Linked DNA regions of Homo sapiens: regions 2 and 3 are each linked to region 1. The links are contacts of gene promoters, found by promoter capture Hi-C in blood cells and fetal thymus (Javierre and others, 2016). All regions are on one chromosome and are shown on one strand. Each heading gives the region's core, a stretch centred on a gene start or on the middle of the fragment in contact. The rest is flanking DNA. Distances are from core to core; before and after follow the strand shown. Region 1 holds the start of GLTP (glycolipid transfer protein). Region 2 overlaps KCTD10 (potassium channel tetramerization domain containing 10). Region 3 holds the start of ATP2A2 (ATPase sarcoplasmic/endoplasmic reticulum Ca2+ transporting 2).

Region 1 (4,910 bases), core at 1,480-3,979:
CCCAGAGAAAAGTCACTCGTGGAAGAATCCTCCTAAAGCTTAAGTCTTCAACCTTCAGGAGCAATTCTCCTCCCCCCACAGAAGAGAATAATGGTTCAAACGAACTATCACTTTTTTTTTCTTTAGAGTCCTAAGAATCAGCCTCTTTGGTGAACAGTAAACAGCTCTGGTGGGCAGAGGGCCCTGTGGTGGTTAACCCATTGTGGACCAACCCCACTGCGGCTTCTGTATAAATGGTACTTCTGTCAACAGATGTGACACCCCACAGCACAGGGATTGCAACAAAGACAAGGGTCCTTTGAGACCAAGGAAAGGGAGGAGGAGATGCTCTTTAGCCCTGGCACCAGATGACTGCTGGCTCTGGCTTGCCACCTCCCTCTTTCCTCCAAAACCAGCCAGATAATTGCATCAAATGATGATACCCCCAAATACAGAACGGATGTGCAACCTCGCTGAAAATAAGGAAAGAAAAAGCCACAGAGTTTAACCTGGGATTTCTCCACCTTTGACACTGCTCATGTTTGGGGCTGGATCATTCTTTGTTGTGGCAGGACTGTTCTGTGCACTGTAGGATACTGAGCAGCTCCCTGGCCTCTACTCACAAGACACCCCGTGCCCCATCCCCCAACTCAGTTGCAACAAAAATGCCTCCAGGCATTGTCAGATGTACCCTAAGGGGCAAAACTGCCCTCAGTTGAGAACCACTGGCTTAAATGGATTCTGAATCCCTGTCCAGGGCAAGCTGGCTCTGACTTGGAACTATTCCTGCAACCAAAGAGGAAACAAGCAAGCAAAAAAAAAACAACAACAACCAACAACATCACAAAATTAAACAACTTTTCAATGCTAGAGCTGGTTCGCTCCCAAGCCCCCACCTGGAGAGTCAGTATTATCTCAAGACTGTGACACTGATAATAAGAAAGTTTTGTGCATTCAGCAGTATTGACTGAGCATCTGCTATGTGCCAGGCACTGTTCTGGGCACTGAGGACACAGAGTGGATGTAAAAAACCAAGCCCTTGCTCTCAGGTTGCTTACCCAGGTCTGGGAATCATACACACCAGACAATTGCACTCCCTCAAACACCGATTAATCACTCTAGCAAGGAACCAAAACTGGATTCAGGAACTTAAAACCACACCCCCTACAGCGAAGACCTATTTGGCACTTACGGCCTCGGTACTTTACACACACCACCTCATCGACTCCTCACAGCTGCCCTAGGAGATCAGCATCCCCGTTTCACAGCTGGGGACACTGAGGCTCACGAGGTGAAGGAGGGGAACTATAGCCTCCAGGTAACCACAACCATCCCAGAGCTCAGGACACTGTGGGAACTACCACCCCTAACAAGCCTTCTTTGCCCACTAAGTCGGACTGTCTTAAGATCTCCTGTCTTTGGGTTTCAGGTGGACTCTGCCCTGGGGGCTGGTATTTTCCTGCAAGGCCACCAAGTGAACCAGCAGGACAGGACAGAGCCCACATGGAGAAGGAGAATAGAGGCTCAGGTTGCACCCTTTACCCGGGACCCAAAAGGCAAAGGGCAGGGGCAGTGGTGCTGGCTTCTAGTTCCCATTTTCCATCTGGGGCCTTGGCTGGACTGGGCTAGGCTGAGGGAGTGCGGGAAGAGGGTCTGAAAGTGGACCGCCTTCCCAATGCGCCCAGGAACTTCCACACGACATACAGGGGAGGGGCTTCCTCTCGTAGAGCCCAAACTGAGGGAGGAATTGGTGCCAAGCTCTGTATGTCTGATGTCACCTCACAAAACAGCTCCCCCGACAACCCTCACCCCTGTCCTAAAAGGAGGAAAAACTTTAGGTGGTTTCCCCTAGAAAGAGGCCCTGGAATTTTGCAACTCCATCTTCAAAACCCTCTCCTTGTCCCCGCCTCACCAGGCTTCCTACCCTTGGAGGGGGAGATGGGAGTCTTTGATCTGGAATGGGCGAATTCTGAGGGAAGAAGGAAGGGTTTGTAGGTCCCATGAGGGAGAGGCTGGAAGCGTTCAAAGAGAAGGCTTATGAAATGGGGGGATTCATTGTAAGGGGAGCGAGTTGAGAGCCATCAGAAAGCGCCAGGGATGAAGGACTTTGGGGAAGAAGGGGCAGGAGGCTTTGGGGGAGATGGTGGATTACAGAATGCCTAAGGGAGATGGAAGATCATCCGTGTTGGGGGCACGGATGATCAGGGGGCATTTGGGGGATATGTAGGACTGTGAGGTGTCTAGGGAGAGGGAGGATTTGGGGAGGACAGGCAGGATGTGACATGTTTAGAGCGGAGAGGACTTGGGAGTGGTCCGGGAAAGGGAGAATTTAGGGTGAGTGGAGGGAAAGAGGATCTTGGGTGCCTGGGGAAACAGTACTTAGGGGTGTCTAGGGCAGAGATGGTTAGGGGATGCTCGGGGGAAGGAGGATTCGGGTGCGCGTGGGGCTGCGGGCCGCCTCCCCCCTCCATTCCGGCTCACCGAAGAAGGGCGGCAGGTGGGACACCGCCTCGAGGAAGGGCCCGGTCTCGATCTGCTTGTCCGCGGGCAGCGGCTTCAGCAAGTGTTCGGCCAGCAGCGCCATTTCGGGGTCGAGGCCCGCGGTGATGCCCCAGCCGGCGCCGCGGGCGTCGACACCGCCCCCCCGGCCGCCGCCGTCAGCGCCGGGGCCGTCACAGCCGCCCGCCGCAGGCTCCGGGGACGCCAGCGTCGCCACTTCCGCCCGCACGGCGCCCTCGTAGCCGAGCGCTCAGCGCCGCCCGCCGGCCGAGCGCCTAAACTGCCGGGCGCGCCGCCCCGCCCCCGCTCACCGGCTCCCAATCCGCGCCCGCCGCCGAGGTCTCCGCGCCCCCATTGGCCGGGGGGCCGGCCGGGGGCGGGACGCAGAGGAGGTGCGCCGGTTCATGGGTCCCGGAGGGCCCAAGTGAGCCGCTCCCAGGTGAGTCTTCCCCAGGTGTGCCTCCCGCCGCCCCCGGTTTGGCCCCCCAATCCGGGCGGGCCGACTCGGGCCAGGTCACAGCTCACAACCCGCCCACCAGCTCGGGTTACAGCCCCACCCAGCCAACGCTCCCCAGGACCCCCGTTTCCCCCAAAATTGTACCCCAGTAACCCCAAGTGACCTGGGTGGACACTGCTCTCCTGTTGGTCACGGTTCTCTTTCGCTACAACCGACGAGGACGCTCGATTGCTTGATTCTTGGTCTTCAATGACCTTATACCTGTTGAACACTGCTGAAGTCACAGTCTAACTCAGCCACTGCCCTGCTGGACAACTCCTGCTTCCCGAAATCTGGGGTCCAGTCTGCCCTCAACAGTCTGATGTTACCTGTTGTGAGGCAGAAAAATAGGGCCTGGAGGCAGGGAACATAAGGCTGACTTCCTAGACCTAAATCAAAAAGCACCTTAGCAATGACAGGAATGTAAACGGCTTTGCAACTTCACTTCATCCTCTCCATTCACGCCCTTTACACTTTGTAACTTCACATTCATCCTCTCCATTTACACAGACCACACACTCCAAGAAACATCCTCTCCATTTATACTTTGTAACTTCACATTCATCCTCTCCCACCAAGTAACATCCTCTCCATTTGCACATCCTCTCCATTTGCAATAGGGCACATTCTGAGTAAATGACTCTGTGACTTCACTTCATTCTCTTCATTTACATAGAATATTCACCAAGTAACCAATGGGAAACCTCTAGAGTATTGAGACCCTAGAAAATTCTGTAAGCAGAGCTCTTGAGCCTCTACGCTCAAGCCTGCTCCCAAACTGTGGGGTGGACTTTTCGTTCTCAGTAAATCCTTGCTTTTGCTTTCCTTGCTTCGTTTGTGTGTTTTCTCCAAGATGCCAAGTACCTGGACACCTTCTACTGGTAACAGCTGGAGCCAGCCCAGTTTATACCAATTCACCCACAACCTGGACACTTGTTTCCCAAACCTAATGTCTCTCCAACAGCCCAGGGTCCAGCTTCTCACACCTTGAATCACAAGTCATCTCAGCCACAACCCACCTAGATGCTTATGTCCTAAACCCAATGCCCAGCTTATGCAAAAATCTAACACACCATTGTTGAGAGCCTCTTATTCATTCCAGAATAAACATTTGCCATCCTTCCCACCCCTCCCCCACCCTCCACCACTATGTGTCATGCACTGCACTGGGCACTGAGGATAAAGTGAATGATACAGCAAAATCCCTGCCCTTGTGGAGCTGACAATCTGGTTGGGAACACAACACAATGCAATACACAAATTGGTAAGACAACTTCAGACACTGATGAGTATGTGAAGAAAATAAAACAGTGTAGTGACGGAGGATGACTGAAGCCTGTTGGCTGAGATCGGATGTAGGGGTTTGGGAGCAGTACCTCTGAAGAGGTGATATTTGAGCTGAGACCTAGAGGAGAAGTAGGATAGAGCCAGGTCAAAGACTTGGGGTGTGAGTCTGGCCAACATGGTGAAACCCCATCTCTACTAACAAATACAAAAGTTAGCTGGGTGTGGTGGCAGGAGCCTGTAATCCCAGCTACTCAGGAGGCTGAGGCAGGGAGAATTGCTTGAACCAGGGAGGTGGAGGTTGCAGTGAGCCAAGACCGTGCCATTGCACTCCAGCCAGAGCGAGCGAGACTCCGTCTAAAAAAAAAAAAAAAAAAAGACTTGGGGTGTGAGGCACATGAGCAAAAGCCTTAAGGTAACAAAGAGCTTAGTGTGGTGCAAGGAATCGGGGGGCCAGGGGAGGAAATGGGAATGGGTAAGTGAGGGCAAGAGTGAGTAGGGTGATAGGAGTTGAGGTCAGGGAGGTGGGCAGAGGCTGGAGTATATTGGGGCAGGAAGGGAGTGGTGAAGAGTTTGGATTTTTTTTTTTTTTTTTTTTTTTTTGAGATGGAGTCTCACTCTGTCGCCCAGGCTGGAGTACAGTGGTGGTGCA
Region 2 (4,910 bases), core at 985-3,484, 420 kb before region 1:
CCAAATGGCCACATACCAAGGATAGAAGAAAGCCTTCTGGGTAAAAAATATCTACTTCCTCTTTCCACAAAGCTTCCTTCAAACTGTCACATTAACAGAGCCATTTCTAAGAACGCACAAGTCTCACCCTCGCAGACTGTGACCTCTGACTCCCAAGGCTGAGCCCTAGACACTGACCAGCACCAACACAGGAAGTCCTATCCCACAACTTCCTGCAACAAGCACTTAGTGGCTAGTGAATGACCAAGACAGACCCCACCCTCAGGCAGCTCGGTAAACATGGGGAGACAGAATCAGCTTTTATTGGATATGGAAAAAGGTCCCAAAGCTGACCAAATCCAGGCACTGTGAAACATTCTTGGGGGTGGGGGCCAGGAAGACTCCCTACTCTGCTGCTCAATGTCCTTTCTAATCTTGTCACTGAGCTGACATTCCTCCACCAGAGATCCTGAGGGTTTTCAGAACTCCTCTACTGAAATGCAGTGTCTCTGGGAGTGGTATTTGTAGAAGACAGGACTGGAGCCTAGGAGGAGGAGGTACCAAAAAGGAAGGCAGGAATGGAGCAAAGTCCAAGTATCTCCCAACAGCAAATGTGAAGCTCTAAAAAGAAGCCAGACAGATGAGAGGGTGAAGTCGAGGCCTTCTGACAAGCAGGGTGACCTCAGGCAAGGGGCGTCCCCACGGCTCCTGCCACGCATTACAGGTGGAAAATGCCAGTGCGCAGGGCCGTGAGAAGGCTTCAGTAGGAATCGGTCACTTTATGCTACCACCTTCCTCCCCACTTTGGGAGAAGGGCCAACATTTCCACTCCTAACAACGCTGTGCCCTGTTCCACTCCTAACAATGCTGTGCCCTGTTCCACGTCCTCCTCAGACTGGGCCCTACTGATCCTGGGCCTTGGATCAGTGGCAGAGGCCAGCAAAAGTTGAGAGCAGCAAACGCATCTTTTTCACAATCCAGAGTCTTAAGTCTGCCCGCTTTCCCCTACCCCTTACCTGGCAGGTCCAGTCCCTGCCAAGTGCCCTCTCATGGTTTTAGGGCATAGTTTGGTATTCTTTGCATGAATTGCCAGGAAAGTTTGATAACAGGGCCGTTTCCAGGTTCCCCTGATGAAACAGCTCAGCCTAAAGTTCCTGGGCCTTTTGTTAAAAGAACGGTCTCCACCCTCCAGCGGCTTCCACTTCCTACTTCCGCACTGTTCCAATTTCCTGAGTAGGTGGGAAGAATACCCCAAGTGGGGGGAAATGCAATACAAATGTATAGCCCTGAGTCAACTCCTGGTTTCAGGGAAGAAAGAGGCCTTCCCAGGCATGGTAAATCACATCACCCTGACAGTGACCTGCAAATGTGATCCCACCCCACTTCTTTCTACATCTGAGAAAACAAAATATGGAATTAATATCTTATGCAACCCAGATGCCTCCAGGGCCAGTAAGCACAATAAATGAGTGCAGCTGGGCGGGGCTGAGGCTGGGGCTGACAGGACAGCATCTGCCCTGCCCCCAAGAGAGGCAGGCTCTTCCCACTCCAGCCAAGAGTGGCCAGGCAGGAATGTGGGCCCAAGAGCTGTGAGCTCTGATGTTCCATGCAATGCCAGAAACCCAGATTTTTCTGTGAATTCCCTGATTTTTAAAGGACGGTAAACTAATTAAAACAAAACAAAACTGTCATCAACCCACCACAAGGCAAACAAAACACATCTGCAGTTGAACTGGGCCTGCAGGCTACCAGCTTGAGGCCTCTGTGCTACCCTACACCAAGTAATTTTTTCTCAGAAGGCTGACAAGGCAGGGAAAGACCGTATTATCTTTCTACCAGTTCTTTTTTGAGGGGAGCTCATTCCCTTGCATTTTCCACAAATAAAACAGAGGCTCAGAGAGGTGCAGTGCCATTCCCAAGCAGAGGCAGCAGGACTAGACCACAAAGAAAAAGTAAGGCACTCATAGGAAAACTCCTTTCACCAGAATTGAAAAGATAAATAGAATTCAACTCAGCTGCGCAGGGAAGGAACCTTCCACGTTCTGCCTTTGATGTCTGCAGAACTCAGCTGCTTGGGAAGACCCAGGGCCCTGAAATCAATTATCCAAATGACAGCCCAGAGTTCCCATAAATGAACAGGCAGACCGTGACACTGGGCTCCGGCTCAAGAATGCCGTCAGGAAATGCTTGTGGCGAAAGAATCATACTTTGGACAAATAAGGGCAAGGGAGCCAGGCACACTCTCCAGGAGGTTTCAATCAGCGTTTTGACTTTAAGATACTGTGGTTGCTTTCAAAGCAGGAAGTGATCCCTTTGAAAGTCAGCTCAAATGCCTAGCACGTAGAAAGACAAATGGAAGTCAAGCAGCTCCTCGCATGTGGGGGGTCTCTCTCCTGCTGCCACGGGGCACGAGAGCTATTTAGGAAGGCTGTCCAAAGTCAGGGCAGCCTGGGATCCCAGACCCATTAGGCAAGGCTGGAGAGCAGAACTGACCGGGACCACACTGGGCAGCACTGGACTTGGGCTCCAGGACGTCCTCAGCACAGCACAGCAGTTAAGTGTTGGAAACCCAGCTCTGATACCTTCTTGCTGGATGACATTGGTGCTTCAATTAACCTCTGTCTAGCAGTTTTCTCTTCTACAAACGATCTCACAGGGTTGACATAAAAATATGATGAAAGAACGTACAGAAGGCACACAGCACAATGCTGGGTCTACCAACAGCACTCAAAAGCAGCTATGGGTCTTTAACAATCTCATCTTTCATCATTATTGCTGGAAGCAGAGCAGCAGCGTCCAGAGGCAGCAAGTTCCAGCCCCCAGGATGGAGTTGGTGTTGCTTTCAGGGACCCAAGGGAGGAGAAGGCTGCTCTGGGGGTCAGGAGGATTGGGCCACTAGGCTCCCCTCCTCCCCGCCCCGTGAGCATACCATGTGCTTCCTCTCTCCCTGGATGTCTGACCTCTCCTTTCCCCTCTCCCACCACCTCCAGGGAACCTTCACTGACCTCTCTTTGCCATCCTAAGGTATTTATACTCTATATTTTTGTGGTTCCCAAACACCCCTGATCATAAATGCCACCCAAGGTACTTGTGAAAAATTCAGATTCTAGCAACCTGCCTCATTCCTGATCAGAATCCCTAGGGCAGGGTCTCCAACCTGAGCACTTTGACATTTTGGACCAGATAATTCTTAGTTGTAAGAGGCTGCCCCGCACATTGTAGGGTATTTAGTTGCATCCCTGGCCTCTACTCACTTGACGCCAGGAGCACCATCATCCCCAAGAAACAACAAAAATGTCTCTGGACATTGCTAAATATCCCAAAAAATCACCCATTGGTTTGGGCATCACTGAGGTAGATCAAGGATGTAAGTGTAAAAAAGCGATTTAAACTCTGAGGTTTCCAAAAGCCCCATTAAAAAAGCTCAGACAAGTCAGACTGGGAGAAGATATTTGCAGCACTGGACCCCAAAGAAACAGGATCCAGTATATGAACTTTTGCAAAGTAATAAGAAAAAGGCAAATGTGTAAGTAAGATGCAATCAAGCAGTTAAAAGATTAAACTCAAAAGAGCAATACACATAAAAACATGCTCAACGTACCAGACATTAGGAAATACTGAATAAAACAAGGTACCATATCATACTCACCAGATTTGCAATAATTAAAAGGTTGGACAGTGCCAAGGGTTGGCAAAAATCCAGACTTCTGCAGGGAGTAGAAGTTGCCATAACCACTCCAGAAGGGACTCCTGCAATATCTAAGGAAGTAGAAGATGCTGTCCCAATTCCCCTCCTGGGAATAAACTCTAGGGCTGAGCTCCCAACAGTGGGTAAGATCTTAAAGCCATAGCCCTTGAGATGGCTGGGTGGGATCTAGGGAGTCCAGAGCCCCCTCATTTGCCAAAGTGAAAATATGATTGTCTACGTGCCCCATGATGTGGCAAAGGCTGGGCAGCATCGCACAGAGAAACTCCCACGCACGGGGAAAGCGTTCAAGGATGTTCACATTCGTCACAGTGAACACCGCAAACCCTCTACATGATCATCAACAGAATATGGCTCCGGCAGCGGCTGTATGCTTCTAGAATGGACACTCTACCACCGGAAAATGTCTGAACGAGAGCTATTTAGTTGTGGATTGATCTCACAAGCATAATGCTACGTAAGCAAAAGCAAAACATACAAACTGTACAGCACCATTTACATCACGTTTAAAAACACACCAACAGCGCCTTGTTTAGGGACATGCACAGCTATAGTAAGAGTAATACCTGGAAAGATGGACACTTGTGGTTCTCAATGCTGGTTGCACACTAGAATCACCCAGAGAGCTCTTCAAAGTCCTACTGCCTGGGCCACACCCTGGCTGGGACCCAGGCACCAGTACTGACCTCCTCAGGTGACTCCCTCTGTAGCCAAGCTTGAGATCCACCTGGTGACCCCAAATGCTTACCTTTGGAAGGGAGAGGGACAAACAGAGAAGGCACAAAGGGGCCCCACAGGTACAGGTCATACTTTATGCCTGGGCTGAGCCTGGTGGCACAGGTGAGTTTGTTGTATTATTCACAATTTAAAAGCTCTCAGGTACTTCAGAATTTTACCAAAGAGCATTGTCATGGAAGGCAGAAGGGCTGGAGATCTCAGGGAAACCCCCAGGAACTGCAGTTTTCCCATGGATCAGACTGGACTTCCCAGTTTTCTAGGGGAATGTGCGATCACAAAATGAATGACTCTTCAATCTAGTGTACGCACTAATTCCAAAATACATTAGCAAGACATCAGAAAACCTACAATAGGGGGAAGTATTGTACGAAGCAACAGGGATGAAACAGACCACTACAGGCAAATGCTGAACAGAATGCATTGTGAAAGGTGCTACCTACATCCGTGGACCAATGGCAATGCTGACAAGGAGTCAGGTGAAAATTCT
Region 3 (4,910 bases), core at 1,754-4,253, 400 kb after region 1:
GAGAGTATTCCAGCCTCCAGTAAATAGAAAGCTTGCAGAGAACAGTCTAGGAGGGCAATGGCAACGTGGTAACAGTACCAATGTGAACTTGAACCTTCCTTCTTTCTGAGAAACCTGTAATGCTGTCTAGCTTTGTTTTTGTCTGTTTGTTTTAAACTGACTACACTTCACAGTCATTCTCATGAGGCAGGTAGTTCAGAGAGGCCCTCTAGTTTATTTCACAAATTGGAAATCAATGAACTTGAGTTCACTGAAAATTTGCTGAGGCCTTCCTATGGGGGAGGCCCTTTGCAAGTCACTTATGGGCTAGGGATGGTGGGACTAATTCATTCATTCAAACAGCAGGCATTTAATAAATGAGGAGCATAGACTAGGGACTGTTCTTTGTACTGAGGATGGACAAGATGGACAGGCCCTGTTCTTATGGAGCTTCTGTCCTAGAGCTCCATGAGACACTAGGAGACAAGCAGTTAACAGCTAAACCAAAATACAACATCACAAGTAAGCACTGTGAAGAAAACTGACCGGGCACGGTGGCTCATGCCTGTAATCCCAGCACTTTGGGAGGCCGAGGCAGGCAGATTACCTGAGGTCAGTTCGAAGCCAGCCTGGCCAACATGGTGAAACCCCATCTCTACTAAAAATACAAAAATGAGGCAGGCATGGTGGCGTGCACCTGTAGTCCCAGCTACTTGGGAGGCGGAGGCACAAGAACTGCTTGAACCCAGGAGGCCGAGGTTGTGGTGAGCTGGGATTGTGCTGCTGTCCTCCAGCCTGGGTGACAGAGAGAGACTCTGTCTCAAAGGAAAAAAAAGAAGAAAAGAAAACTGAAAAATGTGATGGAAGGTGAATTGCCGAGAGTAGCCACTTTTTAATTTATTTATTATTTAATTTTTTTTTTGAGACAAGGTCTCACTCTGTTGTTGCTCAGGCTGGAGTGCAGTGGCGTGATCACAGATCACTGCAGTCTTGACCTCCTGGGTTCAAGCGATCCTCTCTCTTTAGCCTCCTGAGTAGCTGGGACTAAAGGTTCAGGCCACCACGCCCAGCTAATTTTTTTCTTTTTTTTTTTTAGTAGAGATGGAGTCTCGCTATATTGCCCAGGCTGGTCTCAAACTCCTGGGCTCAAGGGATCCTCCTGCCTCAGCCTCCCAAAATGCTGGGATTACAGACGTGAGCCACTGTGGCTGGGTAGCCACTTTAGACAGCAAAGACATCTCTGAGGAGGGGACATGTAAGCTGCGATCTGAATGGAAAGAGAACGACACAAGTGAAGAAGATCTGTGGGAAGAGCATTCCATACAAAGGCTGAGGTCAGGAACTCCTCCAGAAGCTCATAATTGCACCAGAGGTGCTTACAACCCCAAGCAGTGACAGTGGCACAGAATATTCAACATCAAATGCCTAAGCTAATTTCCAGGCTGAGAAAGGTAAACCATCCTTCTCCTGCCTGCAGTGCTTCTATCGGTCCTGAAAGAGACAGAGGAGGTAAGGGAGAAGAATTGGTACGAAATGGTGCAGAGCTGGTCTCAGAGGGCAACAACAGCCAGCCCTCCATGACCACACTCCCACCGTGCACTCACGTGCCCCTCTTGAAGCGGCTCTGATCCTGTGACCTAACCAGTTTCCACCTGGCTTCTCTCAGTGCGTTGCCATATAGTATAATTTTTTGTTTGTTTGTTTCGTGTAGGGTTTTGTTGGTTCTTTTCCAAGTATCAATCAAAACTACATGCCAACGTCCACTCCTTGGAAATAATTAAATGACATGACGTGCCTGATTTTTTCAGCTGGTGATGCACTGTAATTTGCATCTGCTGAAGGAATTTATCTTAAGTCCTGAAGCCCAGCCACTTGAGACAACTGAGGTGATTTTTCTGCTCTGCTTTTGCTCATGCGGATGGTGCGTTATTGTTAAACACAAAAGTGGACTAATTGCTTCATTCTGCAACCTACTCCGTGAAGAAAGCTGCTCTTCTTTGTGAAGAGAATATGTTCATGTTTTGTTCATGAATTCCATGCAATTTCCCATCCCCTTGTTAAGTAATGTAGCTTCTTTATATTGGCAAAATTCCCTTTATCTTGCTGTGACCTGCGCTTTGTCCTCCCGAGCAGAGCAAATCATCTGTGGTTTAAGAGCAGCTTTGGATTCAAGTCCCCTTTTCTCCTGTCGAGGGAAGTGAGTCTATGAAATGGCCTTCATCTGAAAGCCACAGCGAAGCACCTCCTAGCCCAAGTCTAGCTGCTGTGTGGCAGCTCCAGCGGCGTGAACTGTGACTGCCCTGCAGACACCTATCAAGCGCTGCGTCAGCTATTAATAATAAAATCAACTCTTCTCCCTCCCCCCCGCGAGGGGGGTTCCCTCGTCAGGGCCCAGAACCCGCTGGGGAAGAATCGGGGCTGGCGTGCGAAGGAGCTGGCGGCAGGGGGTGTAGGATGCGGTGTTCCCGAGGCGACAGATGAAGGATTTGGGTTGTGTGGGAAGTGAACTGCGGAATTCCTCCCCTTGGTTTCTGAGGGGGGCTCTGAAGGAGCCAGATTAGGATGCAGAGCGCAGCCCGGGCGACCGAGGGCGAGGAGGCGAGCCAAGGACATCAGCCCGAGGGCGCCTCGAGACGCCCCGCGTGGACCGCGCTCCCAGCTCCTCGGCCTCGCCTTCCAACCATCCGCCCACCGGCCCCAGAGCAGCGTGCCCACTGTGAGCGCCCCACCCTGCGTCTGCAGGTGGGTGGGTCAGAGAACCGCAGGCACAGAAGAGGGTACCCAGCTTCCCCTCCGCCAGCCCCGCGACCGCGGCGCGCGCGGCCTCGATCCGGGTTCCTAGGGGCGGCGCGCGGGAGGGGGCGGGGCCTGCGCGGCAGCGTGGGCGCCAGGCGCGCGGGAGGAGGGAGCCGGGAGGAGGGGGCGGGGCCGCGCCGCCCGCGCCGCGCTGGGCGCTCTCGGCCAATGAGCGGCGTCCACATGCCGCGGCGGCGGCGAAAGGGGAGGCAGCGGCCGATAAATGCTATTAGAGCAGCCGCCGCGGAGCCGTCCCCGACGCCACCTCCTTTTCCTTCGCCGCAGTTTCCTCCGCCGCTGTCGGGCGTGCGGCGCTGAGGGACCCGGGCGAGCGCGCCGCGCACCGCCCCGCCGGCTCGCCTCCCTCGCCGCGTTCCGCCCTCAGTGGTCTGCCGGGCGCCCCCTCCTCCGGCCCGGGCGGGGCCTCTGATCGCCTCAAGAGAGCGGGGAGGGGGCTCGGGGGCCGCGGCCTGCCCTCCCGGCGGGCGGCTGAGGGCGAGGGAGGCCCTCCCTTCTGGCGAGGGGAGGGAGGGTGGGTCAGGAGCCCCCAACCCGCCCTGCGGAGCTCGGGGCCGCGCGAGGGGCGGTTGTCTGGGGGAGGGGGCGCGGGGTGATTCAGCGCCCGGCGAGGCGGAAGCGGCCGCAAGAGGAGGAGGGGAGAGCCCGTCCGCGCCTGGGCTCCCGGGGTGGCACGAGCCCGCGGCCGGAGTGCGAGGCGGAGGCGAGGAGGCCGCGGGGACGGGAGGCGAGGCCGGCCGGGCCCCCGAAGCCATGGAGAACGCGCACACCAAGACGGTGGAGGAGGTGCTGGGCCACTTCGGCGTCAACGAGAGTACGGGGCTGAGCCTGGAACAGGTCAAGAAGCTTAAGGAGAGATGGGGCTCCAACGGTAGGTGCAGGGCGCTCCGCTGCAGGGGCCCGGCGCGGCCGGGAGAGCCAGGGAAGATGGCTGACCGGGCTCCACCTCGTGGGCTTCGGCTCCGCGCCCGCCGACAGCTGCGGGCGGAGGGTCGGGCCAGCGCGCCGGCCCCGCGGGAGAGAAAGGGGCTGCGGTCCTCGCCTCGCCTTCCCTGGACCTCTTCGCTTCTCGGGCCCTCGACCTTTTCGGCGCGCAAGGCTCGGAGGCTTCTCTCCAGCAGCAGCCGGCCCCGGTGGAGGGAGGGACGTGGCTTCTGCAGCTAGGTTGAGCCCGGCAAGACGTTTTCTCGTCCCCTGCCGATTTATGAGGAGTCGAGGTCGTTGGAAGGCCTCTGACCGTTCTTGTCCTACCCAAAGTTACACATCTGGCAGAAGTGATGACATCGCTGAAACCACTCCTAGGTTCAGGAGCCCGAAGTGATTTCACGCTTAGGGCTAGACCTCAGGCCATTGATTACAAAGAGTGCATGCTTCCTTGAGATATCTTCGTGGTATGCCCTCTGCTAAAAAAATCGGATATTCTTATAGCTAGGTCTGTGTTTTAAAGATATTGATGCTTAGAATTGTAGCAGTTCTTTTTAGAAAAACGAAGTGCTAAAATGTCTCTCTCTTTTTTTTTTTAACCTCCCTCTTGACACATTGCTTGACGAATTTCTACATTCTACAGAGTTACCGGCTGAAGAAGGTAATCTTAACATGCTGTTTCTGTTTTTTTTCCTCTGTTGGTGTGCTGATGGTAAGATGACAGTTAAAACACATGTGTTTGTTTCTTACAGGAAAAACCTTGCTGGAACTTGTGATTGAGCAGTTTGAAGACTTGCTAGTTAGGATTTTATTACTGGCAGCATGTATATCTTTTGTAAGTATAAAAAAATTTATTTTCTTTCCCCCCAAAAGCTGAAAGTATTCCATAGATAAATCAGAAAACAAATGATGTCCATTGGGTGAAAACATATTTGGAGTTGCAAGCTGTGTCTCTATGTTTAAAAACAATCTGGGCATTTTAAAATTACAAAACAAAACACTTGAAGCCATTGGTATTCAGAAAATAGATGCCTGACATTTACAGTGTGGTTAGGAGTTGTCCCAGAGTGTGGCATGGTCTTAGAAATTCTTGTGGTTTATCAGCTTTTAATATCAAAAAGTTCTTTTCTGGGAAGCCTTTAATGTTTTGGGTTCTTCCATTGTTATCGTGTTGTAAGATCATACTAAGATGA

The links. Contacts are between HindIII fragments. The CHiCAGO score rates a contact against its expected background, and 5 or more counts as called.
Region 2: a fragment that was not itself captured here is called in contact with the fragment with the promoter of GLTP in region 1 in 2 of 17 cell types (M2 macrophages and neutrophils); the score reaches 7.5 in M2 macrophages.
Region 3: a contact is called between the fragment with the promoter of ATP2A2 here and the fragment with the promoter of GLTP in region 1, in 1 of 17 cell types (fetal thymus). The highest score is 6.1, in fetal thymus.

The regions. Positions count from the first base shown.
Region 1 is chr12:109,877,812-109,882,721 of GRCh38, forward strand. GLTP (glycolipid transfer protein) reads right to left here and starts at 2,730. Exons shown (of 5, transcript NM_016433.4): 1 at 2,461-2,730. The coding sequence starts at 2,563. It overlaps LOC124903012 (a long non-coding RNA gene), which reads right to left and starts at 3,590. Exons shown (of 3, transcript XR_007063455.1): 1 at 3,550-3,590; 2 at 3,304-3,363; 3 at 3,087-3,196. It also overlaps a transcript of TCHP not described here. RefSeq lists a silencer at 2,438-2,987 and an enhancer at 3,312-3,813. The HindIII fragment of the contact is 8,722 bases long and covers 37-4,910 here.
Region 2 is chr12:109,461,154-109,466,063 of GRCh38, forward strand. All of the region lies in intron 2 of KCTD10 (potassium channel tetramerization domain containing 10), which reads right to left. Among named protein-coding and RNA genes, the nearest start is that of KCTD10, 14 kb to the right of the region's middle. RefSeq lists enhancers at 1-598, 1,405-2,211. The HindIII fragment of the contact is 4,328 bases long and covers 71-4,398 here.
Region 3 is chr12:110,278,244-110,283,153 of GRCh38, forward strand. It overlaps ATP2A2 (ATPase sarcoplasmic/endoplasmic reticulum Ca2+ transporting 2), which reads left to right and starts at 3,004. Exons shown (of 20, transcript NM_170665.4): 1 at 3,004-3,664; 2 at 4,361-4,378; 3 at 4,470-4,552. The coding sequence starts at 3,547. RefSeq lists enhancers at 2,512-2,581, 3,699-4,453 and silencers at 2,672-3,271, 3,362-3,871. The HindIII fragment of the contact is 3,608 bases long and covers 30-3,637 here.